7 separate regions of the Homo sapiens genome follow, and regions 1, 2, 3, 5, 6 and 7 are each linked to region 4. Evidence: promoter capture Hi-C in human tissues and cell types (Jung and others, 2019). All regions are on one chromosome and are shown on one strand. Each heading gives the region's core, a stretch centred on a gene start or on the middle of the fragment in contact. The rest is flanking DNA. Distances are from core to core; before and after follow the strand shown. Region 1 overlaps SH3D19 (SH3 domain containing 19). Region 2 overlaps FHIP1A (FHF complex subunit HOOK interacting protein 1A). Region 3 overlaps RPS3A (ribosomal protein S3A). Region 4 holds the start of SH3D19 (SH3 domain containing 19). Region 5 overlaps FHIP1A (FHF complex subunit HOOK interacting protein 1A). Region 6 overlaps FHIP1A (FHF complex subunit HOOK interacting protein 1A). Region 7 has its middle 16 kb from the start of RPS3A.

What was found. The method cuts DNA at HindIII sites, captures the fragments that hold promoters and counts their contacts. A contact is called where the count stands out against the background at its distance.
Region 1: a fragment that was not itself captured here is called in contact with the fragment with the promoter of SH3D19 in region 4 in 3 of the 25 tissues and cell types used here (adrenal gland, mesenchymal stem cells and small bowel).
Region 2: a fragment that was not itself captured here is called in contact with the fragment with the promoter of SH3D19 in region 4 in 1 of the 25 tissues and cell types used here (mesenchymal stem cells).
Region 3: a contact is called between a fragment that was not itself captured here and the fragment with the promoter of SH3D19 in region 4, in 1 of the 25 tissues and cell types used here (dorsolateral prefrontal cortex).
Region 5: a fragment that was not itself captured here is called in contact with the fragment with the promoter of SH3D19 in region 4 in 6 of the 25 tissues and cell types used here (H1 embryonic stem cells, bladder, heart right ventricle and 3 more).
Region 6: a fragment that was not itself captured here is called in contact with the fragment with the promoter of SH3D19 in region 4 in 2 of the 25 tissues and cell types used here (mesenchymal stem cells and mesendoderm cells).
Region 7: a contact is called between a fragment that was not itself captured here and the fragment with the promoter of SH3D19 in region 4, in 1 of the 25 tissues and cell types used here (pancreas).

Annotation. Positions count from the first base shown.
Region 1 is chr4:151,142,081-151,145,786 of GRCh38, reverse strand. It overlaps SH3D19 (SH3 domain containing 19), which reads left to right. Exons shown (of 20, transcript NM_001378122.1): 12 at 1,737-1,877. Among named protein-coding and RNA genes, the nearest start is that of SH3D19-AS1, 20 kb to the right of the region's middle. The HindIII fragment of the contact is 4,262 bases long and covers 90-3,706 here.
Region 2 is chr4:151,567,970-151,571,904 of GRCh38, reverse strand. All of the region lies in intron 4 of FHIP1A (FHF complex subunit HOOK interacting protein 1A), which reads right to left. Among named protein-coding and RNA genes, the nearest start is that of FHIP1A, 160 kb to the right of the region's middle. The HindIII fragment of the contact is 3,965 bases long and covers 1-3,311 here.
Region 3 is chr4:151,104,232-151,108,510 of GRCh38, reverse strand. It overlaps RPS3A (ribosomal protein S3A), which reads right to left. Exons shown (of 6, transcript NM_001006.5): 5 at 4,225-4,279; 6 at 3,869-4,039. The coding sequence ends at 3,918. Among named protein-coding and RNA genes, the nearest start is that of SNORD73A, 2.5 kb to the right of the region's middle. The HindIII fragment of the contact is 7,291 bases long and covers 1-4,279 here.
Region 4 is chr4:151,323,988-151,328,086 of GRCh38, reverse strand. SH3D19 (SH3 domain containing 19) reads left to right here and starts at 2,482. Exons shown (of 20, transcript NM_001378122.1): 1 at 2,482-2,846. The coding sequence starts at 2,735. The HindIII fragment of the contact is 31,894 bases long and covers 1-3,990 here.
Region 5 is chr4:151,485,747-151,489,475 of GRCh38, reverse strand. All of the region lies in intron 3 of FHIP1A (FHF complex subunit HOOK interacting protein 1A), which reads right to left. Among named protein-coding and RNA genes, the nearest start is that of FHIP1A, 78 kb to the right of the region's middle. RefSeq lists enhancers at 20-653, 2,756-3,454, 3,455-3,729. The HindIII fragment of the contact is 4,294 bases long and covers 28-3,729 here.
Region 6 is chr4:151,505,179-151,509,463 of GRCh38, reverse strand. All of the region lies in intron 3 of FHIP1A (FHF complex subunit HOOK interacting protein 1A), which reads right to left. Among named protein-coding and RNA genes, the nearest start is that of FHIP1A, 98 kb to the right of the region's middle. The HindIII fragment of the contact is 5,266 bases long and covers 1-4,285 here.
Region 7 is chr4:151,081,175-151,085,172 of GRCh38, reverse strand. No RefSeq gene overlaps it. Among named protein-coding and RNA genes, the nearest start is that of RPS3A, 16 kb to the left of the region's middle. The HindIII fragment of the contact is 4,380 bases long and covers 1-3,518 here.

The sequences.
Region 1 (3,706 bases), core at 971-3,470, 180 kb after region 4:
GGTCAGCTGGCTCTGACACCTGCTCCTAACCATTACGCCAATCGTAGCCTCTACTTGATTTGGCCATTCTGTTAAGAGCCCTTTCTCAAGGGGAACCAGATTTCACATTTGGTTCTTGTCACGCACGTCTGTGTGAAGAGACCACCAAACAGGCTTTGTGAGAGCAACAAGGCTGTTTATTTCACCTGGGTGCAGGCGGGCTCATTCCAAAAAAGGAGTCAGCAAAGGGAGACAGGAGTGGGGCAGTTTTAAAGGATTTGGGTAGGTAGTGGAAAATTGCAGTTAAAGGGGGTTGTTCTCTTGCGGGCAGGGGCGGGGGTCACAAGGTGCAGGGTAGGGAGATCAGGAGACTCATTGTCCTGGGGAGGAACATAACAAGGTCGATTGATTAGTTGGGGTGGGGCAAGAACAAATCACAATGGTGGAATGTCATCTTTTGTGGTTCTTCAGCTGCTTCAGGCCATCCAGATGTATACGTGCAGGTCACAGTGGCTTAGCTTGGGCTCAGAGGCCTGACAGTTCTTAGCATAGTCGTATAATGTCAATAAAGCATTTTTTAAAACTCAATACATTCAAAATGATGGTATATATAGAGCTGTATGTCTCATTACAAAATAATTCTTCAAATCTTTCATTTATTGCATGCCTACAGTACCATTAAATTGCTAGCCAGGAATCTGGGTACATTGGAAGCCCTAGGAATCTGACAAAGATGTTGGGAAATGGCACCACCAAGCCAGCTGTACAGGGCCACATCCTTGCACTGTGGATCTTTGCTCCTGGGTGATCCAAGGCCCAGGCAGCCTTCTTCCCATGTTGGATGTGAGCTTGTGTGATTGCATTTCCTGGGTATGCCTTTTATATAGTACAGACCGTCTGATGTGCACTCATCAGCTAAAATTTTCCAAAGCAGGGAACAGAGCCTCCTGGACAAGGTCCAGTACAGATGTAAAAACCATTCTAAGATCAGACAGAGCTGAGTGGACCAGGAAGTGGCTGGGATCAGGCCATGAAATGGATTTAAGTAGACACTTGGTATCAGAGAGACTCTAGGAGAAGAGCTTCAAGGTCTATGGAAACAGGCAGGCAGTACACGGAGGGCTCCAATCACTGATCAGCCTTCAGAGGCCACCATTGTAAGAACCCTGAATTAAAGAACTGGCTGTGAGGTCAAGTGCTGGGTGTTTCTCCTTCAAACCCCCAGGGGACTTGGCGGATCTTGTCCTGTAGAACAGAACTTCCTGGTTATGGTCATTAAGGGAATGTTAGGCCATGTTTAGCTCTTGTGGTTCTATGGGCCTAACTCCAACTCCCAAGAGCCTCTTAACATCCATGAGAAATGGCAGGCTCCATTGATCTAGAGCGCGATGAAGCCAGGTGAGTTTAGCTGCTGGAGAAGGTGCACTTTAGGCACACACATGCCAAATTCCTAAATGATCAGCAACTTAAGAGGAGGTTATTTGATTGTGAATAAGCCTTTTATTGGTTTACGTTTAAGCTGTCTGTGCCTCATGGAATTGCCAATGAAGATATTGTCTCTCAAAACCCCGGAGAACTCTCTTGTAAGGTAAAGTAGAGCTCTTTCCTTACTGGTTAATGTAAAAAAAAAATTACTGGCCTCTGTTACTACCATTACACATTATTAAATGCTTTAGGCTCCAAAGATTAAAATGTGAAAAAGTAATAATGTTTTATTAAATAATAATTGCTTCAGAGAGTGGTATTGTACCTTGCAGCGTGGGGATGTACTTGTGATGCTGAAGCAGACGGAAAATAATTACTTGGAGTGCCAAAAGGGAGAAGACACTGGCAGAGTTCACCTGTCTCAAATGAAGATTATCACTCCACTTGATGAACATCTTAGAAGCAGACCAAACGTAAGGAATTAATATTGTTACAGCCCTCATATCACACATAGCAGCACATTTCATGGAACTATTAATTATATCTCATCTTCAGGTTTTTATTAGCACATTTATTTTAACCAGAGTAAAAATTACAGTAGCATTTATTCTACTTTTAGAATAAATTACTACTAAGAGACTTGCCACTGCCATACTAATCACTTCGATACAGAGTGACTACCCTGTGTTTTGTTTTCTTCACTGCACTCCAGCCTGGGCCATAGAGCGAGATTATGTCTTGGAAAAAAAAAACAAATAAAAAAATAAAGTAAATATGAAAAATAATAGTGATCAAGTAAAATACTTGGTTTGCCGTTTATCCTAGTTTTCATAATCTTTTCCCATTTTTTCTTCTTAGAAGGCAGTTTATCTTTTGAAGTTTGCTAAGAAACTAAAAAATTGTATTTGGAGAGCAGAGGAGATATGTGTTAAGGTAGCTTCTGCTGGCATATGAAAATCCTTACTTTAGCTCCCACGGGGCAAGTTCTCCACTGACTCATTTTCTCTGTTTTGGTACGGCATTATCCATCTGTCATAGCTGTCCTTCCTCTTTCAGAACACACTTATGGCAACAGTGGAAGTTATACTGCCAAAAAGCTTTCCTTTGTGAAAAATAGAAGCTAAAAAAAATTAGAATTTTTTTTTTTTTTTTTGAGATAAGGTCTCACTCTGTTGCCCAGGCTGAAGTGCAGTGGTATGATCACTACAGCCTTGACCTTCCCGGCTCAAGCAATCCTCCCACCTCAGCCTCCTGAGTAGCTGGGACTACAGGCGTGCACCACCATGCCTGGCAATTTTTAAAATTTTTTGTAGAGACAGGGTCTCACTATGTTGCCAGGGCTGGTCTGAAACTCCTGGGCTAAGCCATCTGCCTGCATGGGCCTCCCAAAGTGTTCAGATTACAGGTATGGGTCACCATGCCCAGCCAAAAGTTAGTCTTTTATAACAGTGCAAAGTTCTTTCCACCTTAAATACCACCTTCTCATCTTTTACTATAGACTTGCAGAGAGTTGGCCTCTGATGGGCAGCTATTGGTGATAATGAAATGAATCCTCCTTTATGCTTCTGGGTTCATGGCTATTGTTACATTTTTTTTTTAAATAAAACTTACCTATTTGAAAGCCTAGTTTTAAGGTAAATATCTCTACGAATATGTTGTACTTTGCCCTAACTTGGCAAACAGAAAATATTGAATGAACATGACCAGTTGTGGTTGAATCAGACAGATCATGGGAAAAGTGGAAGGTTGTTGCCTGGTACATGGTTGAGACCCCAGACCTGGGTTTCAGGGAAGTGGAATTTGGTTCCCCTTCCACCTTCTTCGGTGGTTATTTAACTTCTCTAAACTTTATTTTTTTAATGTGTGAGATAACTGCCCACAGAGTTGTCTTCAGAGTTGACAGATTATATGATGTTATTTGTGTAAAAGTCCAGAATAGATAAATCCATAGAGACAGAAAGTAGACTACTGGTTGCCTGGGGCTGAGGGGAGGGTAACTGGGGTGTGACACCTAATTAGTAGGAGGTTTCTTTGGGGAGTGATAAAAGTGTTCTGCACTTGGGTTATGGTGATGGTTGGATAATTCTATGAATATGCTACAGCCATGTTCACTTTCAGTAGGTAAATTTTATTGTATGTGGGTTATATCTCAAAGATGTTTAACAAATTCATTGAGCTAATGCATATAAGGTATTTAACACAGTGACTAGCACATGGTGAATGAGCAGTAAATATTAGCTATTCTTAATATTACAAAACCATTTGCATTAGCAGTTATAGTCATATTAGAAAGACCTTTGCA
Region 2 (3,935 bases), core at 80-2,579, 240 kb before region 4:
TGATAGAAGTGCAAGTTAATGCCTCGGCCATCTAACTTAAGAAGTATAACTTTGGTTCACTTTACCTTCTACTGTCAAGGCTAGAGCTACCTGTAAGTCTTGGAAGAGAGAGAGAACTTTTTGAAATGTTAACAAACATCAATTTACTAAGATATTTAGAAAATGAATCAGAGTTCTCTAATACGTCCCAACTGTTCATCTCTCAAAGGCTTTACTTAATTTTTCTCTGTCATTTAGTCTAGTACAAGGCACAGAGCAAAAGAGTGGAGATGAGCAGAGCAAGGGAATGAGACTCAAATACAGTACACATGTCAAATCCATGCATGGATGCTCTAGACTTTAGATTCGGGCTACTTGGAGCTCCACACAAAATACCATAACTCAAGTATATTATCTGTTTTTCATTTTTGTGGGAAGACATTTGACTTAATTAACCAATCTAGATGGTTCTGTTTTTTCCCATCCCTACCCCCTCCAAGATGAAAAAGGTTACTAAACCCACTGACTTTTCCTCATCCATCACTATTACTTTATTTGAGCTCTGATATTTTCTTAGCCTAAAAAATTTTTAAACAGCTTATTTTTAAAGGCTGAAGGTAGAAAGAAGTCATTCTGGGCTATTAACTAACTAGAAGCAAAGACAGAAATGTGCATTTCCAATTGATTTGTTTTAACCCACCTCCTCTGTTCTCCTGGCTCTAAGAGCAGAGACCTTTTGGAATTCAATGCTTGAAAGGAGCAGATAGAAAATGAATAGAGCAAGGTCCATGAAGCTTCAGAAAGTACAATTGTGCCATCAAAAATAACTAGTGTAGGGAATTTAATTCACATGGCAGTCTAGTTGAATAGTTTATTGCCTGGTGGGCTAATGCTTCTTACTATTTCTGTCCTCTTTTCCATTCAGATAAAAACAAAGAAACAAAGGCAAGAGATAAAAACAACAGTCTACTAGAGAATAAACTGTTCTAATAGACTACTATAAAAATTAAGTATATACACACACTCTTCCAGATCATTTAATGCCAAGTCCAAAGATCTTGCCGGTGACAAATTATACAATGTTTTAAAATTAGTGTATGTTGAAAGCTGTTTCCTAAGTTGCCTAGCTCTTTTAAACTTGTATTTCATACTGACTGCCTTTCAGTTCAATCATTTATTGAACATCTACTATATGTCACACTCTGTTCCGGGCAATGGGGATGTAAGTTACAAATGGCCTCTGATCTTGAGGAGCCCGTAATGAGTGTGAAGAAGATACTGTATATGTAATTTTAATAAAAAGTGGTTGGGCTACACGCAGTGGCACATCTCTGCAGTCCCAGCTATTTGGGAGACTGAGGGAGCAGGATCTCTTGAGCCAGGAGTTCAAGGCTGTAGTGTGCCATGATCACACCTGTGAATAGCCACTGCGCTCCAGTGCAACATAGAGAGACTCTCTCTCTAAAAATATAAGTAATTAAATTAAAAGGTGGTTGGTGTAAGAGTGATAGAATACTCAGGTTAATGCTTGAACATGGGGTGGGAGCATGAAAGAGGGCAGGGAAGGTTTCTTAGAGCAAATGATCCCTCAAATGAGGCCTGTAGAAGGACAGGCATTTAACCAGTGGGAGGAATATTTCAGGCAGAAAGAAGAAGGAGTGCCTAAGGCACAGAGGGATGAAACAGCATGATGGACGCTGCCAGGAGAGGGGGTGGCTAGGAACCCCAAGCAACTTTGCATTTTTGGAGATTAAATGAGAGGCAGAGAGTAACAGAAGCCAGGACGTAACAAATTCTGTGTGTCATCCTGGGCTGTAGGTGGCCAGATGCCACTGAAAGGTTCAACCAGAGGAATGAACCAGACAGATCTGGGTTTGAGATTCATTGCTCTGGCAACTTATAGCATAAAATGGCATCTCAGAAGGTGACAGGAAGTCAGGGGCTACTTTCTACAGCCCAGACTCTTCAGTGTCACTATTTGGAATGCAACCATTCCTGAAAGTCTACTCTAGAATGATTCTGGGGATGCCATGAGATCACTGGACCCAGAAGCAGTTGGGAACCTCAAGTGCACCACTGGGCCATTTAAGGTCTCTCCCCTGGCAACTCTCCAGAATCACAGACTGCTTGGATGATGGCTGGTTGTATAACTAGCTGCCTCTGACAGGCTCTAAGGTATAAGTGGGCAAGCAGATCTCCTCCATCAATGTTTGCTTTTTAACTCAAGCTCTGGAAAAGAGGCTATTAACAAATAGCAGAACAGAACCTGTCAAATACAAGTTAATTATGTTGAATTTATACTTAAGTCTCCTAACATACAGAACTTGGGATACCACAGGCTTTTGTTGCCTTCATTTTTTCCTTTTTTTTTTTAAAGACATTGTCTTGCTCTGTCACCCAGGCTGGAGTGCAGTGGCGCAATTTCGGCTCACTGCAACCTCCACCTCCTGGGTTCAAGTGATTCTCCTGCCTCAGCCTCCTGAGTAGCTGGGATTACAGGCACCCGCCACCATGCCTGGCTAATTTTTGTATTTTTAGTAGAGATGGGGTTTCTCTATGTTGGCCAGGTTGGTCTCAAACTCCTGACCTCATCATGTGCCCGCCTCATCCTTCCAAAGTGCTGGGATTACAGGCGTGAGCCACAGCGCCCGGCCAACACTTTTTGCTAATTTAACATTTAAAAAAGCATTACACTGGGCAGGTAACAGACACCTGGGCAAATAAAATGCTTCCCAGCTTTGTCTATGCCTCATTCCCTACCAGCCTTACAGGTTTTTCTTGGGTTGCCTCAGGTGAACCCAGGGGCTGCAGTCACAGTAGGCCTAGGAGCTTATGTCAAACTGGAGCTCTTTTCCCAATCCTCTGCAACTGCTCTTCACCCACCCCAGCCCAACAACTCACAGCCAAGAGCTAACGTATGAAACTCCAAAACAACAAATAAGTAGCATTCATTTCCCCCAGCTGAAGATCTCATTCCTTATCTTACTTTTGGTCCCACATCTCTGCCTGGCTCTGATTTTTTTGCCTTCCCCTCTTTTATATGTACCATCCAAAAAAGCTGAAATTGAGCATTTATTCCTAGTATCCATTCTCTGAAATATTATTTTCCTGTCTGTCATCAAAACCTTCCTTTTCCATAGCCAACGTAGCAAAATCTCACTTTCTCCATTCCCAGGCCATTTCCAGCCATAATAGCCCCTTCTCTTGACTTAATTCCTGTAATCATGGTTATTCATTTTGTAATAATGTATCTTGCATTGTCATCTGAATTAGCTTATACATTTTTTAAAGCCCAGACCAAGGCTTATACATTCTCAAGTCCCACGTGTGATGCCTACAGCGACATGCCTGGAGTGTGTGCTCAGTAAATCTCCATTGAACAATAACACTTTTACATTCACATAGATTTCTTCAACCAGCATTTTCATTCATAAAGATAACAGAAAGGCCCTCAAGAGCCTCTGTAGGCAGAGACTGAGAGCATTTTCCAGATTTATTTAAAAGGAAACATCAAGCCTAAAAAAAGGTTAAAAACACCTGTCCAAAGGTAAAGAAATGGCTGAGCCAACAGTAAGACCATGAGTGTCTCAACTTTATAAAAGAAAATATTTAACAACTAAACAGTATCCCCTATGACAAAGTTATCCTTACCTTCAACTCAAGACTTGTCTGCACTGAGAGTACTATGTATCTGTACTGTGCTTCAGAGAACCCAAAATGTGCAATAATACTGAAGTCATTTGTATTGTTATGGAAATGAATAATATGATTCTGGGACCAATAGTCTTTCAACAATGTGACACAATGTACTGGCACATTCCTCACATTTGGAGAAAGCCTGCCTGGGACAGAATCTGACAGGGCAGATGACCCACCTACATATAATCAAGAAGTTGATGATATATCATGTCTTTGGGAAGTGGCACAGAATACTAAATGGATCATATCACAGTTAC
Region 3 (4,279 bases), core at 367-2,866, 220 kb after region 4:
TAAGGAACCTACCAAAGGACATGCTTCAGACAACCAAAATAACTAGAGAGCCATCAATCTAAAGACTGGTGGTGGGCATTAAACATAGTTACTTGTGGCCAGGCGCGGTGGCTCATGCCTGTGATCTCAGCACTTTGGGAGGCCAAGGCGGGTGGATCACCTAAGGTCAGGGGTTCGAGACCACCCTGGCCAACATGGTGAAACCCCGTCTCTACTAAAAATACAAAAAATTAGCCGGGTGTGGAGGCCGGCACCTGTAATCCCAGCTACTTGGGAGGCTAAGGCAGAATGACTTGAACCCGGGAAGCAGAGGTTGCAGTGAGCTGAGATTGTGCCACTGCACTCCAGTCTGGGCGACAGAGCAAGACTCTGTCTCGAAAAAAAAAAAAAAAAAGCATTATTTTTGGAACCTCTTTCAAATGAGCCCTTCTAAAAATAGAATACTATGCCAACCCCTATTCCAAGGTGTAGCAGATTAGAGCTTGATTATGGATTATACTATTACCTTACTAAATGATATCCAGCCTCAGTGCATCAAGAGGAAAACCACCATTTATGTAATAATCAGTCCTCATCCCATGACCTCTTTTTCTACCCTGGGGAGGGAGCCCCTGCCATTTGGGACCCATATCTATGTCTAAACCAGCCTTTAGTAGAAAGTAAGGCATTTGTTTCTTGGCTAAGGGACATTAATAGGGAATATCACTCATTCCTTTATTCAACAAATATTGAACTAGGCAATGATGATCTGACAATTAATCAGTGCCCTACCACCACCAAAAACACTGTCCTCATGGAATTTTTCTCATAGACACGAGTAAACAAAACTGGAAAAAAATCACAAGTGTCAGAGGGCACCACCAGATTCTACGGAGGAGACATTATTAGAACAAACTTCAATTCCTCATTCAGGTTGCTTAAAAATAAACAACAAACAGCAGAGACTTCAAGGAGGTGAAATAAACACTGTGGCCATGTAAAGGAGAATATTTCAAGCACAGGGAAGAGCAAGGGGAATAGGAGTAAGAGACAAGTCAGATGCAAGATCACATGGGATCTTTGAATGAATCGTCTAAAACAGATTTTCAGGGCCTGGTATAGTGGCTCATACCCGTAATCGGGAGGATCACTTGAGGCCAGGAGTTCCAGACCAGCCTTGGAGCCTTGGGAATATAGCAAGACCCCATTTCCACATGAAATATTTTAAAATTAGCCAGCCATGGTGGCACACACCTGTAGCCCCAGCTACTCAGGAGGCTAAGGCAGGAGGATCACTTGAGCCCAGGAATGCAAAGCTGCAGTGAGCTGATTGTCTCACTGCATTCCATTCTGGGCAACAGAGTGAGATCCTGCCTATAAAAAATAAAAGACTTCCACAAGATAGGACATAGACAAGGTAGGCAGGAACAATCCAAGTAGTAATGGTGGCTTGTTTCAAATAGCAGAAGATGGTAATAACTGATTAGACTCCAGATATATATAGTTTGAATCAACTGTGAATGGTCAAGGATGACCACAGAGGATTTTGGCCTAAGCAACCAAAAGGGTGGGTACAATTGAGATAATACCATTTTAGAACACTGTATGTTAAATGCCTGTCTGACATCCAAGTGGGGATATCAAGTAGGCACTTAGACAAACCTGGATGTCCCAAAGAAAGGTATAGGCTAGAAATATAAAAATCTCCATTAATTTAAAACCAAGAACCTAGGGAGAGTATAGAAATGTCTAACGACCAAGCCCTAGGGCCTTCTTTTTTTTTTTTTTTGAGACGGAGTCTCACACTGTCTCCTCAGCTGGAGTGCAATGGCCCAATCTCAGCTCACTACAACCTCTGCCTCCCAGGTTCACGCAATTCTCCTGCCTCAGTCTCCCAAGTAGCTGGGATTACAGGTGCACACCACCACACCCGGCTAACTTTTTGTATTTTTTAGTAGAGACAGGGTTTCACTGTGTTGGCCAGCCTGGTCTGTAACTCCTGACCTCGTGATCCGCCCGCCTCAGCCTCCCAAAGTGCTGGGATTACAGGCGTGAGCCACTGCACCCGACCAGCCCTAGGGCCTTCTAAAACTGATTAAAAGTCTAAAAAATGAACTAGTAAAGGAGTAGCCAATGATGTAGGAGGAAAAGCTTGAGTCGAGGATCTGGAAGACAGTTAAAATCAGGAAGAAATCAACTGTCAAGAGTCACTAACAGGACAAAGTGATAAGCAAGTCACTAACAGAGGTCAAGTAAAAGACCTCTAGTAAAAGAATGGACCACTGAATTTAGCAACAAAATCACTGCTAATCTTGACAATGAAATGTCTTGGAGTGGTGTTGGGAGGAAAGCCTAACTGCAGCAAATTGAAGAAAAATAAAATAAAAACTAAAAAATGTGGCTGGGCACCATGGCTCACACCTATACTCCCAGCACTTTGGAGGCTGAGGCAGGAAGATCCCTTGAGGCCAGGAATTTGAGACCAGTCTGGACATAACAGCCAAGACCCTACAAAGAACTTAAAAACTAGCAGATTAGGCCTGGTGCAGTGGCTCACACCTGTAATCTCAGCAATTTGGGAGGCCAAGGCGGGAGGATCACTTGAGGCCAGGAATTCAAGACAAGCCTTGCCAACATGGCGAAACCCCCATCTCCACTAAAAAATGCAAAAATTAGCCCAGCATGGTGGTGGGTGCCTATAATCCTAGCTACTGGGGAGGCTGAGACACAAGCATCGCTTGAACCTGGGAGATGGAGGTTGCAGTGACCCAAGATCGCACTAACACACTCCAGCCTGGGTGACAGTGAGACTGTCTTTAAAATAAAAAAAGCTGGGTGTGGTGTGGCACAGGCCTGTGTCCCAACTACTCAGGAGGCCTGAGAGGGAGGGCTGCTTGAGCCCAGGACTTTAGGGTTACAGCGAGCTATGATCACACCATTCTACTCCATCCTGGGTGACAGAGTAAGATCATGTCTCTCAAATGTAATTTTTTTTTCAACAGTCTCATTTTGTAGCCCAGACTGGAGTGCAGCTCACTGCAACCTCCACCTCCCAGGTTCAAGTGATTTTCATGCCTCAGCCTCCCGAGAAGCTGGGATTACAGGCACCCCGCCACCACACCTGGCTAATTTTATTTTTTTTAGGTGAGACGGTGTCTCACCATGTTGGCCAGGCTGGTCTTGAACTTCTGACCTCAAGCAATCCACCCACCTCAGCCTCCCAAAGTGCTGGGATTACTGGCATGAGCTACGCACTTGACCTTTAAAATATATTTTATATGTAAAAAAGTTTTAAAAATTAAAAAAAATTAAATGATACCAATATATAAAAAATTCCTTTGAGCTTTGCTATAAAGGGACTTAGTAAGGTGCTCTGGGAGGGTATACTAGTATTTGTATACTAGTATACAAGGGACAGCGAGGAATTGATAAAGGTGTGAATTGCTGAAGCCATGAGGCTGATTGGGCAAAAAAAAAAAAGGCTGTCTTATGTCTTAGCACAATCCATCCAGTGGTATGACAGAAGGTAGTATGATTAACACATGCATAGGTGGCAGAATATAGGTAACAGAAATTTGTGGGGTTCTTTTCTCTGCTTTAAACTTTTTTAGTGATTAAAGGAAGCAAGGTTATCAGCTAAGCAAGAAATGAGAAAACTGAAAAGGCTTGAGAAGAGGTAGAAACTGAATGAATGAGTGACTATAGGTGGATAGCACTAAATGCCCACTTGGTAACAGCTTCTCCGCCCCATTTCAGCTTCACAGTAAAGGTGCATAGTAGTATGTTTATATCCAATTTGTCTGGGTCAGAAAAGTTTACCAGCTGTCAAATTTACTGTCTAATCCACCAAGCTGTCAGATTATTTTTAAAAAAAGAATGTTCAGAAGCAAACCATCACAAATAGCACTTTTTATTTGCCACTATTTGAAGTCTGAACTTTAAACAGATTCTTGGACTGGTGGTTCATATCCATCAGCTCGTTCAACTTTAGCACCTGTCTCGTCCCCAGTGGCTTTTCCAGAACTACTGCCTTCACCATGAAGCTCCATGAGCTTTCCCACTAAAAGGCAAAAAAAAAAAAAAAAAAAAAAACCAAAAAACTGTTAGTATATCTTGAAATAATGGTCATCACTACTATGCAAGCATGACAGGAAGAAAAAGAAGGCCATGATATGGCCCCACACTCCTCCTCCACCCAAAAACAATGTATTTGGCCCTACAGGAATCATGTGATTTCTCACTTACATTCAAACTTGGGCTTCTTCAGCATTTTTACTTTTCTAACGAAGACATCATGGAG
Region 4 (4,099 bases), core at 1,233-3,732:
CATAGGATGTGATCATGGATATTTCTTTCCTTCTTTTGAGTCTCCCCACAGCACCTAGAGTGGTACTTGGCACACAACAGTTACCATAAATGTTTGCTAATTGTAGAGTGGGCTTGGGCATGCACCACCCACCCACCACAAAAATGTGGATTCCCGAAGCTCTAATTGGCTGGGAAACCCAGAACAACTTTCACGCCTTTCCAAATTAAGATTCAATGGCTGGGCTCAGTGGCTCACGCCTGTAATCCAGCGCTTTGGGAGGCTGAGGTGGGTGGATCACGAGGTCAGGAGTTTGAGACCAGCTTGGCCAACATGGTAAAACCCCGTCTCTACTAAAAATACAAAAATTAGCCGGGCGTGGTGGTGCATGCCTGTAATCCCAGCTACTCGGGAGGCTGAGGTAGGAGAATCCCTTGAACCCGGCAGGCGTAGGTTGCAGTGAGCCGATATCGTGCCACTGCACTCCAGCCTCGGCAATAGAGTGACTCTAGTCTCAAAAAAAAAAAAAAAAAAAAAAAATTAAGACTCAATGACAGTAGAAACTGACTCCAATGGCTTAATGAAATGGTACTGTTGGTCAAGGTAGGGATTTTTAAATTATTCATCCTTGAAGGGAAGTGACAAATAAGGTTTCACTTACCAAACATTTAAAACAACCCTAAAGGTCCAGAACCTTTGTTTTATTGTTGTTGGCTTAATTTCCAGTTCTCTAAGTGTCTACTTATTTAATCGCTTATGCAGTAATAAAGTTTTAACTTGTGGATTTGACCTCAATTCCACAGAATCGATTGTGGTTCTTATCTGCTTAAAAGCGGAAAGATTTTCTCAGGCGGCAACAGCCACTATTGAAAAGGCAAAGAAACAGCACTCAGGTGTGGCAGGCAATTCTATTTTCAGTGACCCTTTTCTCCCTTTCTTTTTCTCTCCTACTTGCTGAACATTAGGAGCTCTTGGTAATCTCTCAGAAATAGAGCAAGACGCCAAAGATAAAGGCCTGTTCATCGCACTCAGGAATTTCCTAAGGTTTCATGTCCAGGTAATATTTCTGCCTGCTACTTGGGTATCTTTTGGTGAAATTCCAGAATCTTTTCCTCTCTGTGTGAAAGTAAGTACGTGCACCTACTGAACCTAAGATGTGTATTGTGCAGGTACACACAACTTTGGTTACACGGTTCTTTCCAGCTTTGAAAAACTTTCTTAGGGGTAGCTCACACAGCTAAGTGCTTCAAATTACAGTTTCTGACTCCAGAGCCAGTGGTCTCTCCACTTCCCCTAGTTGCCTCTCTACAAATAATCACGTATGGGTCTCTTTAACACATTTCTTCCTGTTCTTCTAGGAATTGTAGCCATATCCTAGCCCTAAATGAACTGGAATACAGTGAGGCTTGATTTATTATTAAACATTTTTATTAGACTTTTTTTTTTTTTCGAGAAGGACTCTCGCTCTGTTGCCCAGGCTGGAGTGCAGTGGTGCGATCTCCGTTCACTGCAAGCTCTGCCTCCTGGGTTCAGGCCAGTCTCTTGCCTCAGCCTCCCGAGTAGCTGGGACTACAGGCGCCCGCCACCACGCCTGGCTATTTTTTTTTTTTTTTGTATTTTTAGTAAAGACGGGGTTTCACCGTGTTAGCCAGGATGGTCTCGATATCCTGACCTCGTGATCTGCCCGCCTCGACCTCCCAAAGGGCTGGGATTACAGGCATGAGCCACCGCTTCCAGTCTTACTAGACTATTTTTAAGAACAGTTTTAGGTTCACAGCAAAATTGAGCTAAAGGTACAGAGATTTCCCATGTACCCCCTGCTCCCACACATGCATAGCCTCCCCCATTATCAACATCCCCCACCAGAGTGCCACAGTTGCTACAATTGATGAACCCACATTGACACCTCATAATCACCCAAAGTCTATAGTTTACATTGCGGTTCACTCTTGGTTTTGTACATTCTTTGGGCTTGGACAAAGGCATCCGCTATTACAGAATCATACGCATAGTAGTTTCACTGCCCTAAAAATCCTCTGTGCTCCCGCAAGTCTAGGTTTTTAAGGGCGAAAAGAGAGGGAAAGAAAAAAGTGTGCATTGCAGAGGCTCGACCCAACTCCAAGCCAAGTTTGTTCCAAAGTTCAGCAGCTCCCAGCTGTCCCATCTCTCCCAGTTCGGCCCCGGTCGGGTTCCTCCTCTTTTTGTTTAAGTGTCAAACAAATGGGTTTCCTGTTGACACTGGAATATCGTGAAAAGGCAGGAAGAGGCCAGGCCACCTCCTCTTTCCCCTCTTCCTATCCCGTTTATTTATTTTGCACACGTTTGTTTGGGTCGAGCTGGTGTTTCCAGCGTGTGTGGCTGTGGGGCGGCCTTAGGGGCCGATAACCCCTCCCTGAGGAGGCGAGGCCAGCCCCGAACCCGCCCGATCCGCGGTGGAGCTCTACGGGGCGGGGAAGGCAAAGAGGAAGGGGGAAGAGAGCGGGAGTGGGAGTGGGAAAGGCCAGGGATTAAGAGGCCGCCGGGACGCCGCAAGGAGGCGGGGAATCGGCTCGGCCCGCGCCCTGCCGCTGCCCGGCCGGCTGCAGGTGGAGTTCGCGGAGGTGGCCATTTCCACAGCCGCCGCCGACGCCTCCTCTCCGGGAGCCGCCTTCCCCCCGGCCCGAGGGCGGTGGCGTGGGGCGCCGGGTGCAGGCGTTCTGGGGCGCCGGGGCCGCAGCTCGCTGGCCATCCCGCGGCTGCGCCCCGCGCCTCGCCCATGGCTGAGGGCCGGCGGCGGGAGGACGAGGAGGAAGAGCTACGCGAGCGCCGCGAACTTGGTGGCCAGCGCCGCGCCCGGGGCCGTGCGCTCTCGGGCCACTCGGCCGCAGGTGAGAGGCGCGGGGGACGGGGCGGCGGGGACCCAGAGCTGCGCGCTCTGGGGCCGCTCGGGTCCTGCCCCACACAGCGGCAGCTCCTTCACGCGCCGGGATGGGACCGGCTTCTTTAACTCTCAGAGGCCAGACTCGGGGAGGGTGGCATTTCCATCGCCATCCTCACTTTCCGGCCGAGCCCGAGGAAATTCAGACCCGTCTTTAACTGCTAGTGGTCGTACAGCTGAAACTCAAATTTTCCGTGCACACTAAATCCAGGAGCTGCTGGCTTGGGACTTGTGGCCTGGTTGATGACTTATCTCTGGATGAGTCAGAGGTCAATGGCCGTCTCGGTGGACAACGACACCTTCCGAGGGGTTTGCCTGCGCCGCCGCAGCCAGGTCAGAGCACGTGCTCATAACTGAGGCAAGTCCTGTTTCGGCGTCCCTTGCACTTCGGACCTGTGACCCCCCTCCCTCCCTCCCCCAGCCGCCGAGCTCACCAGTTTTCTGTAGGACTTGTTTTCGTTAGTTGTGAGACCCTCCCCCACGCAAAGAGAAGTCCAGAATATAGCATTCCAAAAGGCCATTCATTTGGGCTGAGAATCATTTTCGGGCCTGTAATTACTTTTATGATACTGTGTTTTGGGTACACAAAAGCGGCACGGATCAAATAGTTTGGCACATTAGTGAAAGAGTGAATAAGTGTAGATCCACACCCCTTCCCTCTTCCGGGCGGCTTTTCAATCAAACATAATAGAGAGGACATTCTTTGGCCTTTGGTTCCAACTGGGTAATCCGAGTTATCTGAAAACAAGAGGGAAGAACAAACCTAGGGGGACTGGCAACAAAAGGGAGATAGGGAAGTGAGAGAGTCGGAGGAGAACGATTCACTGAGAGCCTCATTATAAAGTGGAATATAGCGAATATTCCATGAAGTGGAGAAGCTTTTCTGTGTGACTCCCTTAACCACTAAGAGAAAGTTGGAAAAATAGAGAAGATATTGTATCTGTGCGGAACAAATGGAGGGTAGAAAGTAGGATGAAAGGAAAACTTGAGAAGAACATCTTGAAGAAATAGTCAATTTAATGCCTTTGGTAGAATCTTGGAACATAAAAATAATTCTCCATGCTCATTATTACAACTTTTCATCAAAATAAGGCATTTGGCTGTCTATATGAACACCAGTTTTGAACATAATTGGTAATTTTGTTCAGTGTAAACCCAAACCTTGTGAAATAATGAATAGTTGCTGGATATAAGTGAATATTT
Region 5 (3,729 bases), core at 925-3,424, 160 kb before region 4:
TTCCTGTTCACTCCTCAACCCTACATTCTACTCAGGAAAATTCGTGCTCAGTCAAAATTATTACAAAGTTCAGCTAGGAGTTTCCTTCACTCTGTGGCCCCTCCCCAATTCTGCTGGCTGCCTTCCCTTCCCCAAAGACCCCTGTGATATAAGGCCAGGAATGGCTTCCCTGGACTCTAGCTGGGGACCTGGAGTGCCTACAGTGCTCTTCCCACTACTTCTTCTACTTTTATATTTCACTCAGCTCCCTAAATCCGTTTCAGCTCTAGGTGAGGTTAAATCCTTCTCCTGTGAGCTGGATTTTCAGGATTTTCAGGTTCCCAGTGGGATGTGGGTGCAGAGGCAGACTTCTCCTCCTCTCACACCTTGGGAACTCACGTAGAGTTTGCAGCGGTAAGCTGCTTCTTTCAAAGGGTCTGTGAATTCTTTCAGTTTTCCTGGTATGTTCCTGTGGTGGTTCTTGGAGCAAAACTTCACAATGTGAGTCTCCATATGCTGTTCTGTCTGTCTAAGTGGGAGCTGCCTGTTAATCCTGTCTCCTATCTGCCATTTTCCCACTCTCTCTCCACCAGCTCGAGTTATTTTACAAAAGTAGGAAGCATGTAGAATTGGTAGAAATCAGTTGGCTCATTTAAATATTCATTTGTCCTTTCATATGATCAATATTGAATACTTACGTTGGGTGATAGACGCACAGAAATAAATAAGATGCAGCTCACGGTCTAAAAGAGGTAACTGAACAAACAACTAAAACAGTTTGATGAGTCAGATGAAAGGAAAAGAATGGAATACTATGGCAGCATTTGCAATCCCATTACTGGGTATATACCCAAAGGAAAATAAGTTGTTCTGCCAAAAAGACACATGCACTCACACGCTAATCACAGCACTATTCACAATAGTAAAGACATAGAGTCACCCTAGGTGCTCATCAACAGTGGACTGGATACAGAAAATGTGGTATATGTACATGATGGAATATTATGCAGCCATTAGAAAAGAATGAAATCACATCCTTTGCAACAATATGGATGCAGCTGGAGGTCATTATCCTAAGAGAATTAATGCAGGAACAGAAAACCAAATGCCACATGTTCTCACTTATAAGTGGGAACAATAGACACTGGAGACCATTAGAGTGGAGAGAGAGTGAGGGGGGAAAGAGCTGAAAAATTACCTATTGGGTACTATGCTCACTACCTAGGTGACAGGACCATTTATACCCCAAACCTCAGCATCACACAATATACCCATATAACAAACCTGCACATATGGATAAAAGAAAAGCATTGCCCACAATGGATGACTGATTGTGGAGGAGCTACACTGGTGAATGCAGAGGAGTGTCATGATCAGAATACACCAGTCATAACATAAATGAATGGAAAGAAAACACCAATTATAGTAGTTGAGAAGAGAGATGATGAAGGTCTGGACCAGAACCCTTACAATGAATGTAGAGAAGCAGAAGTGTAGTTTTAAGAGAGATTTAGCAGGTGAACTCAAGAGTCCCAAGCAGATATGCAGAGGGAAGAAAATGAAGTAAAGGATAATCCTAGATTTCTGGCTTGAGCCACTGAAAAAGAAAGGCAGCAAAGCACAGTAATTAGGACTACATGCTCTAGAACCAGACAGCCTGGCTTGAATTCCATCTCCATTAATTAATCCTTTTGTGACCTTGAGATAATTTCTTAAACTCTATGTGGTTCGGTTTCCTTATTTGTACGATGAGAAAAATAATAGAATGTATCTCAAAGGATTTTGTAAGGAATTACATGGAAGATCTTAGAATAGTGCCTGGCACACAGGAAACACCTGATAAATGTTAGCTACATTTGGTTGATGGTTGATGGTGATGCCATTTACCAATACAGGGAATATGAAAGAAGGCACGGATTTCAGGTGTGAAGAACAATGAGTTCAATGCCAGACACGATAACCTGACCTGACTGTGGGACATCCAGGTCTAAAGCTTAGGAGAGAGTTGTGGGAGTTGGATGCTACTTTATAAAGTGGACGCTAAGGTGATGTCTGAGCAAGTTCCTAGCCAACATGAAAAAGCAGGCCCTGAGGGAAGAACATGTGGGTGAGATGTGGAAAGAAGAAAAAGCTTGGAAATTTCCTAAATCCAAGGGATGAACAGAGAAAAAAAAGACTGAAAAGAAGAGGAAGACTCACAAACGATTCTTCTAATAAAGAAGTACCATAAAACTAAAGAAAAAAACAAAAATATGAATGACATTGAGATGAGGAAAATATACCATCATCCATAGGGAACAGGCTTAAAGATAAGAAATACAGGGCAGGGACAAAAAGATACATCTCAATAAAAAGTGACATTCCCTAGAATAGTGTTTTAAGGTTTACTATTTGAAAGAATTACCTAGAAGAACTGCATAATGAAATCTCCAAGTTAAGGGCCAAAGGCTCTTTTCCTTAACAAGAAGGAGAAGCCTCAGAAAAATATTATATAGTAAGCAAGAAAATATTTTTCTTTTTTTTTTTTTTAAATGGAGTTTTGCTCTTGTTGCCTAGGCTGGAGTGCAGTGGCGCAGTCTCGGCTCACTGCAACCTCTACCTCCCAGGTTCAAGTGATTCTCCTGCCTCAGCCTCCCGAGTAGCTTGGGATTACAGGTGCCTGACACCACACCCGGCTAATTTTTGTATTTTTAGTAAAGATGGGGTTTCATCATGTTGGTCAGGCTGGTCTCGAACTCCCGACCTCAGGCGATCCGCCCGCCTCGACCTCCCAAAGTGCTGGGATTACAGACATGAGCCACCACGCCCGGCAAGAAAATATTTTTCAAGGAAAGAAATCAGAACATAATCTGACTTCAGCAAAAAATAATCCAAACTGCATTTTACAAATAAATTTCTGGCCCCAAGTTTTCAGTTACTAAACCCAAAGAGCCATTTAAAATCACATCAATTTTGGGCTTGAAGAAAGTGAGAGACATCCATTTAATCCAGATCATAGATATGAGAACTACTTTGGAGAGCTCGTTAAAATGCACATAAACTGAGTTATCCAAGACGTATTGAATCAAAATCTCCTGGTATGTGGTCAGGAAAAATTCTCTGCTTCTTGAAATGTCTAAAATAAGCTTACCAGATGATTCATGTGCACACAGTTTGAGAACCCGTAATGTATCTGCTCAGGAGACCAAGGACAAGAAAAAATAAATGGCTTGCACAATAGCACATATCAGAATCACCTAGAGCAGGGGGTCCCCAACCTCTGAGACCCAGACTGGTACCAGTCTCTGGCCTGTTAGGAACCAAGCCACCAAGCAGGAGGTAAGCAGTGGGTGAGCTTTACTTCCTGAGCTCCACCTCCTGTTAGATCAGCAGTGGCATTAGATTCTCATAGAAGCGCAAACCTTATCGTGAAATGCACATGTGAGGGATCTAGGTTGCACACTCCTTATGAGAATCTAACTAACGCCTGATGATCTCAGATGGAACAGTTTCATTCTCAAGCCACGCCATCCCCGTCATCCATGGAAAAATTGTCTTCCACAAAACCAGTCCTTGGTGCCAAAAGGTTGGAGACTGCTGACCTAGAGGGCTTGTTAAATATAAACCTCAGCCAGGCACAGTGGCCCACGCCTGTAATCCCCACACTTTGGGAGGCTAAGGCGGGCAGATTGCTTGAACTCAGGAGTTCAAGAAGGTGGGGCAACATGGTGAAACCCGTCTCTACAAAAAATAAAAAAATTAGCCAGGCAT
Region 6 (4,285 bases), core at 994-3,493, 180 kb before region 4:
GCCAGGCAAGGTGGCTCACGCCTGTAATCCCAGCACTTTGGGAGGCTGAGGCGGGCGGATCACGAGGTCAGGAGATCGAGACCATCCTGGCTAATGTGATGAAACTCCGTCTCTACTAAAAATACAAAAAAAAATTAACCAGGTGTGGTGGCGGGTGCCTGTAGTCCCAGCTACTTGGGAGGCTGAGGCAGGAGAATGGCGTGAACCCAGGAGGCGGAGGTTGTGATGAGCCGAGATCACGCCACTGCACTCCAGCCTGGGCGACAGAGTGAGACTGTCTCAAAAAAAACAAACAAACAAAAAAAATACTTAATAAATGCTTCCAGTCATGCCAGTGACTGAAAAAGTCAGTTTGCTTCCCAGCTCCTTTACTCTCCTCGAGTAATATTTATTTAGTATTCATTTGTACATGGGAAGCCCCATCCTAGCACTGTAGCACTGCTTAAGAATGTCTGACACCTGCTCAAAGAGAGGAATTTCATCCAAACCCAAAAGGAGGAAAAACTGTTGTTTTAAGGGTTTCCTAGATTTTTTGGGAGGGGACAGAAGTTTTAAGAGGAGTGCTCTTTCAACATTGTGGGTAGTTTTTAGGGAGGGCTGGCTGGGGAGAAAGAGAGTATGTAAATGCTGACTGGTAGGGAAATGGACTTTTCCAATCTTTGAGCAGGCTGTTTGCTCCGCTCTGTCTCTGACAGGGTCAAGTCAATCCCAAGAAACCAGCATTACCTGGTTCCAGGACTCAGTGGGTTCCAAGTCCAAGTCACCTATTTTTGGTAAGCCCATGATTCTAAGCCTTCCAAGAGTAAAAGTGTCAAACTTTGATTCTGAGAGCCTTTCTATGCAAGTATACTGCTGAATTTTTTGGTTTAAACAATGGTTAGGGATAGAGGGTGTGCTACTGTTCACCTACAGGGCGAGAAGAAGGCAGCCTGTTCTTTCTCACCACTCATCATTTACCTATAGCTTCAGCCCTGGACCACCTACAGCCACGTATTCCTGATGGGAAATTTCTAGATGGGCCAGATCCCAGCTCAAGGCAAGAGACTAACAATTCCAGAACCAGCAACCAAAGGAGACAACCCTGGCCAGTGGACAGACCTCAGTACACCTAACATTACTAGGCTGCACATGAAGGCAGGACCCACGAATCTTTCTCCCCAAATTATTGTGCCTGCTTTGTTCTTTCCCAGATCTTAAGTTCCAAAAGGGGTTGTTTTCCATTTGTAAATATTGCATCTCTCTGAGATATTCTAAGATTAAATAAAAATTGAGTTACTCAAAAGCACAGAGCCACATAAAATTCTGCAATCCTGTTTTGTAACTCCTGCTTTATCTACCTAGTTCCATCTCTGTGCCTCTTCCAAACCTTTTATAAACCTGCTGGATAAGGCCTTGCCTGATTTCTTGGTCTTCCTGTACCACTTCCTCCAGTCTTTACCTCAAAATAGCCTCTTCAGTTTTCATTCTATATTCTATCTTCTTCAGAATCCTTCAGATTCAAAATGCGTCAAGAAAGAGACTCTAAGTTCAGTACTACTCAAGCTTCCAGGATCAGAAACATTTACCTCCCCTGTTTAAATAATATATAACACAATCTCACTGGTAAGCAATAGCCTTTACCATTCTTTTCAGCTCCTGATCCCTTCTATCCCTGTAAATATCTCCATCTCTCTCTCAGAGGACAGAACTGTGGTTCTCAACGTGTTTAAACCATAAGGAGGTGGGGGATGAGGAGAGCAGTAGGGATTTTTCTATGGGTCATTACAATTTTGAAAATAAATATCGAAAACATTATAGATGCCCTTGTTCACTTAATAGCCAAGAAAGCATATCCTATAACATACAATATGCATCTAAGATCATCTGCCACAGCACTTGGCAATGTATAATGATATGAAAATTAAAATCCACTAGATAATCCTTAACTATCAAATACTAATAAATACACATATTAAATGGAAAGAGGGAAAAAATAAATAATCTAGGTTAAAAATAATAGATAACATGTTCTAACTTTTCACATTTTTTCTTATTTTCTCATTTTTTCCTCACTCATTCCTTATTGTAATCCTAGCACTTTGGGAGGCCAAGGCAGGAGGACTGTTTGAGCCCAGGGGTTGGAGACTAGCCTGGGCAATATAGCGAGACCCCATCACTACAAAAAATTTAAAAATTAGCCAGGTGTGGTGGTGCAAGCCTGTGGTCCCTGATACTTGGGAGGCTGAGCTGGGAGGATCACTTGAGCCTGGGAGATCAAGGCTGCAGTGAGCTGTGGTCATGCCACTGCACTATGTCCTGGGTGACAGAGTGAGACCATATCTCAAAAAAAAAGTGGGGGGGCAGGGGAAAGGCTTTCACAGCATAAATAGAGGTAGTGGAATGAATCACTTAATGAAGCAGTGCCATTCTGGGTAGGAAATCTCAACTAGAAACAAGTACCTTGTGTTCAAGATTATGGAAGTCTCATTTTTGCCTTATGTGCTAATGGCATGTCATATTTGATTTATTTTTTGTTGAAATGGGAAGACCTGTCCTCTGTCCCAGGAAGCAAAGTTGTTTGTAAATAAATTTAAAAAATAATTACAATTCTAAATCTCTTCCCATATTACATAACTGGTTTCATATTTTTATGTTAATTCAGCACTCTTTGAAGGCATGTGATATAGTTTAGATATGTGTCCCCTCCAAGTCTCATGTTGAAATTTGATTCCCAATATTGGAGATGCGGCCTGGTGGGGGATGCTTGGATCATGAGGGTGGATCCTTGATGAAGGGCTTGGTGCCATTTTCTTAGGAGTGAATAACTTCTCACTCTTAGTTCCCACAAGAACTGACTGTTAAAAAAAGCCCGGTACTCCCTCCCCTCTCTCTCTTGCTTCTGCTCTCTTACCATGTGACCTCCACATACAGCAGCTTCTCTTCACCTTCCGCAATGAGTAGAGGTTTCCCAAGGCCCTCACCAGAAGCAGATGCTGGTGCCATGCTTATTTTACAGCCTACAGAACCATGAGCCAAACCAACCTCATTTCTTTATAAATAACTCGGCCTCAGGTATTTCTTTATAGCAACATAAATAGACTAAGACAATATACTGCAATATACTTCTTTTCATTTAGTGAAAATACTTCCTTAACAAAGTTCATAGAAAACTCAGTGTAGCCTTGCAGTCATTGTAAATATTTTATTAACTATCCTGTTCCAAAAATGGCCCTTCTCTTCCTACTCACCACCGAGGTCAATTTCATTCCCCCATTTAGGCCAGGCACAGTGGCTCACACCTGTAATACTAGCACTTGGAGAGGCCAAGACAGGGGGAATGTTAGAGGCCAGCCTGGGCAACGCAGTGAGACACCCACCTCTACAAAAATGAAAAAATTAGCCATGCATGGTGGCATGTGCTGTAGACTCAGCTACTCAGGAGGCTGAGGTGGGAGGATCACTTGAGCTCAGGAGTTCGAAGTTCCAGTGAGCCCTGATCATGTCACTGTACTCCAGCTTGGGTGACAGAGCAAGACCCTATCTCAAGAAAAAAATTCCTTTATCCAATTTCCCACAATATCATTCAACAAAAAAAGAAGGGTAAACTGGCTGTTGGAAAGTAACCAGTAGTTATAGATGGACAGAAAATCTTTTGTGTAATCTTCCTTCAATTTTTAAAAAATTTTCACTATGTTGCCAAGGCTGGTCTTGAACTCCTGGTATCAAGTGATCCTTTCTTCTCAGCCTCCTGAGTAGGTGGGACTACAGGCTCACACCATGCCCACTTGAATGTTATTTATTAAAACTAAGCTTTTGATAAAGACTCAACAGCAGAGAATTAAAGATTTTTCTCTTTTTGTGAACATTCAGCGTTCAATTATTCAAAATTACCGATCAAGAATATATTCATATGCTTCACAGTGGTCATCTGAGTGGCAGATTGCTGTCCCCTTCTGAAAAATGTTAAGAAGTCTAGCAATGACACTGGAATAAATGGCCACTTCACCTTTGCATGGAAGGGGTCGATGATAGACTGTAATAGGTAATGATTATGGGTGTCCTGAATGTTTTTCCCTCATTGCCATTTGGTAATAGCAGCCCCTTCCATTTGGGGACTCCTTTCTTATTTCATGTAGTTTTGTAAGGATAATAATCATGTTTGTCTATAGCCTCCCCAATTCCTATCTTCTATTCATCATCACGAAAGTAGGCAATGTGACCCAGGCCTAGCTAATCAGAGACCCCCATTTTCCAGGCTACAGTGATGTGTTCAGGGAGAAGCAAATGATCTCATTAGACAAGTAAG
Region 7 (3,998 bases), core at 79-2,578, 240 kb after region 4:
AAAAAAGCCGGGCACAGTGGTGGCTCACGCCTGTAATCCCAGCACTATGGGAGGCTAAGGCAGGTGGATCACCTGACATCAGGAGTTCAAGACCAGCCTGGCCAAGATGGTGAAACCCCATCTCTACTAAAAATACAAAAAACTAGCCGGGCGTGGTGGTGGGCGCCTGTAATCCCAGCTACTCAAGAGGCTGAGGCAGGAAAACCCCTTTAAAAACTCGGGAGGCGGAGGTTGCAGTGAGCCTAGATTGCGCCATTGTACTCTAGCCTGGGCAACAAGAGTGAAATGCTGTCTCAAAAAAAAAAAAGAATTGGCTAGCCCTGGCATGGGCAATCACCCTAGACAGAAAAGTTTTTTCAGATTTCAAAACATCATTATATACAGAAAATAAAAAATGGCCAGGCGCGGGGCCGCACACCTGTAATCCTAGCACTTTGCAAGGCCAAGACGGGCAGATCACCTGAGGTCAGGAGTTCAAGACCAGCCTGGCCAACTGGTGAAACCCTGTTTCTACAAAAATACAAAAATTAGCCGGGCAAGATGGTGCGTGCCTGTAATCCCAGCTACTCAGGAGGCTATAATAGTGGGCCGGAGGTGGTGGCTCACACCTGTAATCTCAGCACTTTGGGAGGCCGAGGTGGGCGGATCACCTGAGGTCAGGAGTTCGAGACCAGCTTGGCCAACACAATGAAACCCCATCTCTACTAAAAATACAGAAATTAGCTGGGCGTGGTGGTGGGCACCTGTAATACCAGCTACTCGGGAGGCTGAGGCAGGTGAATCGCTTGAACCCGGGAGGCAGAGGTTGCAGTGAGCTGAGATTGTGCCACTGCACTCCAGCCTGGGCAACAGAGCTAGACTCTGTCTCAAAAAAAAAAAAAAAAAAAAAGTAAGAGCACTGAAAGGTAAGAGTTACAGACCAAGACCCTGACAATACCAAAAAAAAAAAAATTTTTTTGCCAGGCCTAGTGGTGCATGACTATATAGTCCCAGCTACTAGGGAGGCTGAGGTAGGAAGATTATTTGAACCCAGTTCAAGGCTAGCGTGGGCAACATAGCAATACCCCTTCTCTTTAAAATAAATATATAGGCCAGTCGTGGTGGCTTATGCCTGTAATCCCAGCACTTTGGAAGGCCGAGGTGAGCGTCGCCTGAGGTCAGGAGTTCGAGACCAGCCAGCCTGGCCAATGTGGCAAAACCCAGTCTCTACTAAAAATACAAAAATTAACCAGGCGTGGTGGTGCGTGCCTGTAATCCCAGCTACTCGGGAGGCTGAGACAGGACAGCAACTATGACTAAGTTGGATCTATCCTAAGAATATGAAGTTGGTTTAATATCTGAAAATCAGTAAGTGTAATACATCATATCAAATGCATTGACAAAACTCAACATTCTTTCATATAAAAACCCCTAAACTGGGAATAGAAGAGAACTTCCCTAATCTAATAAAAAGCATCTATGAAAAACCCACACCTAACAGTATACTTCATGGTAAAAAATGGGATGACTTTTCCCTAAGATCAGAAAAAGGGAAATGGGGAGAAGTTAGTCAAAGAGTACAAACTTTCTTTCTTTCTTTTTTTTTTTTTTGATACAGAGTTTCACTCTTGTTGCCCATGCTGGAGTACAATGGTACAATCTCAGCTCACTGCAACCACCACCTCCCAGGTTCAAGCAATTCTCCTGCCTCAGTCTCCTGAGTAGCTAGATTATAGGCACCCACCACCATGCCCAGCTACATTTTTGTATTTTTAGTAGAGATGGAGTTTCACCAGGTTGGCAAGGCTGGTCTTGAACTCCTAACCTAGGTGATCCACCCGCCCTGCCCCACAGCCTCCCAAAGTGCTGGGATTACAGGCGTGAGCCACCATGCCCAGCCGAGTACAAGCTTTCAATTAGAAAAACAAATAAATCCCGGGGAGCTAATATACAGCATGGTAACTATAGTTAATACTGTATTATATACTTGAAATTTGCTACCAGAGGAAATTTTTTTTTTTTTTTTTTAGACTGAGTGTCACACTGTCACCCAGGCTGGAGTGCAGTGGCACAATCTTGGCTCACTGCAACCTCTGCTTCCCAGGTTCAAGCGATTCTTCTGCCTCAGCCTCCCAAGTAGCTGGGATTACAGGTGCCCGCCACCATGCCCAGCTAATTTTTTGTATTTTTAATAGAGATGGGGTTTCACTATGTTGGCCAGGCTGGTCTCAAAGTCCTGACCTTGTGACCCACCCCCCTTGGCCTCCTAAAGTGCTGGGATTACAGGCATGAGCCACCATGAGCCACCATGCCCGGCCGTATATCTTTTTTTATTTTCTATTTTTTAGTCCTGATCATGGCAAGGACAAGGACAAGAGAGTAAATTTTTTTTTTTTTTTTGAGACAGAGTCTCGCTCCGTCACCAGGCTGCAGTGCAGTGGCGTGATCTCAGCTCACTGCAACCTCCGCTTCCCAGGTTCAAGCAATTCTCCTGCCTCAGCCTCCTGAGTAGCTGGGATTACAGGCGCATGCCACCACGCCAAGCTAATTTTTCTGTTTTTTTTAGTAGAGACGGGGTTTCACCATGTTGGTCAGGCTGGTCTCAATCTCGTGACCTCATGATCCACCCGCCTCAGCCTCCCAAAGTGCTGGGATTACAGGCGTGAGCCACCGTGCCCAGCCAAGAGAGTAAATCTTAAGTGTCCTCACCGCCCCCCAACCCCCCAACACATAGAGCTATGTAAGGTGATGGATGGATGTGTTTATTAACTTGATTGTGGCAATTGTTTCACATATATGTATACTTAAATGATCATGTTGTACACCTTGACAATATATATAATTTTTATTTGTCAATTATACTTCCAACAAGACGATGATGTCTACTCTCACTACTTCCTCAAGATTATATAGGAGGCTCTAGCCAGGGAAATAAGGCAAAAAAAAAAAGGATCCAGATTGGAAATGAAGAAGTACAACTACCTTTATTCACAGTTGACATCATTTTATATACAGAAAGTCAGATCGAGCTCAGTGGCTCATGCCTGTAATACCAGCACTTTGGGAGGCTAAGGTGGGAGGATCACTTAAGGTCAGGAGTTGGAGACCAGTCTGGCCAACATGATGAAACCACAACGCTACTAAAAATACAAAAATTAGCTGGGCGTGGTGGTGTGCGCCTGTAATCCCAGCTACTTAGGAGGCCGAAGCATGAGAATTGCTTGAACCTGAGGAAGCGGAGGTTGCAGTGAGCCGAGATCGCACCACTGCACTCCAGCCTGGGTGACAGAGGCTGAGTGATCCTGTCTCCAAAAAAAAAAAAAAAAAAATAGGAAAATCAAAAATACACAATAAAAACTATTAGAGTTCATAAACCACCACAGCAAGCTTGCAGGACACAAAATCAATATACAAAAATCAACTATTTCTATATACTAGCAATTAACAATCAGAAAATAAAATTAAGAAATAATGGCTGGGCGCGGTGGCTCAGGCTTGTAATCCCAGCACTTTAGGAGGCCGAGATGGGTGGATCACGAGGACAGGAGATCGAGACCATCCTGGCTAACACAGTGAAACCCCATCTCTACTAAAAATACAAAAAATTAGCCGGGCGTGGTGACGGGCACCTGTAGTCCCAGCTACTCGGGAGGCTGAGGCAGGAGAACGGCGTAAACCCGGGAGGCAAAGCTTGCAGTGAGCCGAGATCACATCACTGCACTCCAGCCTAGGCGACAGAGTGAGACTCCGTCTCAAAAAAAAAAAAAAAAAAGAAAGAAATAATTCTATTTACAATAGCATAAAAAAGAATAAGATACTTAGGAATAAGTTTAATAAATGCAGTGCAAAATATGTAGATAAACAGAAATAAACCCATGTGTATGTGATCAACTGATTTTTTTTTTTTTTTTGAGTTGGAGTCTCCCTGTGTCGCCCAGGCTGGAGTGCAGTGGTGCAATCTCGGCTCACTGCAACCTCTACCTCCCAGGTTCAAGCGATTCTCCTGCCTCAGCCTCCTG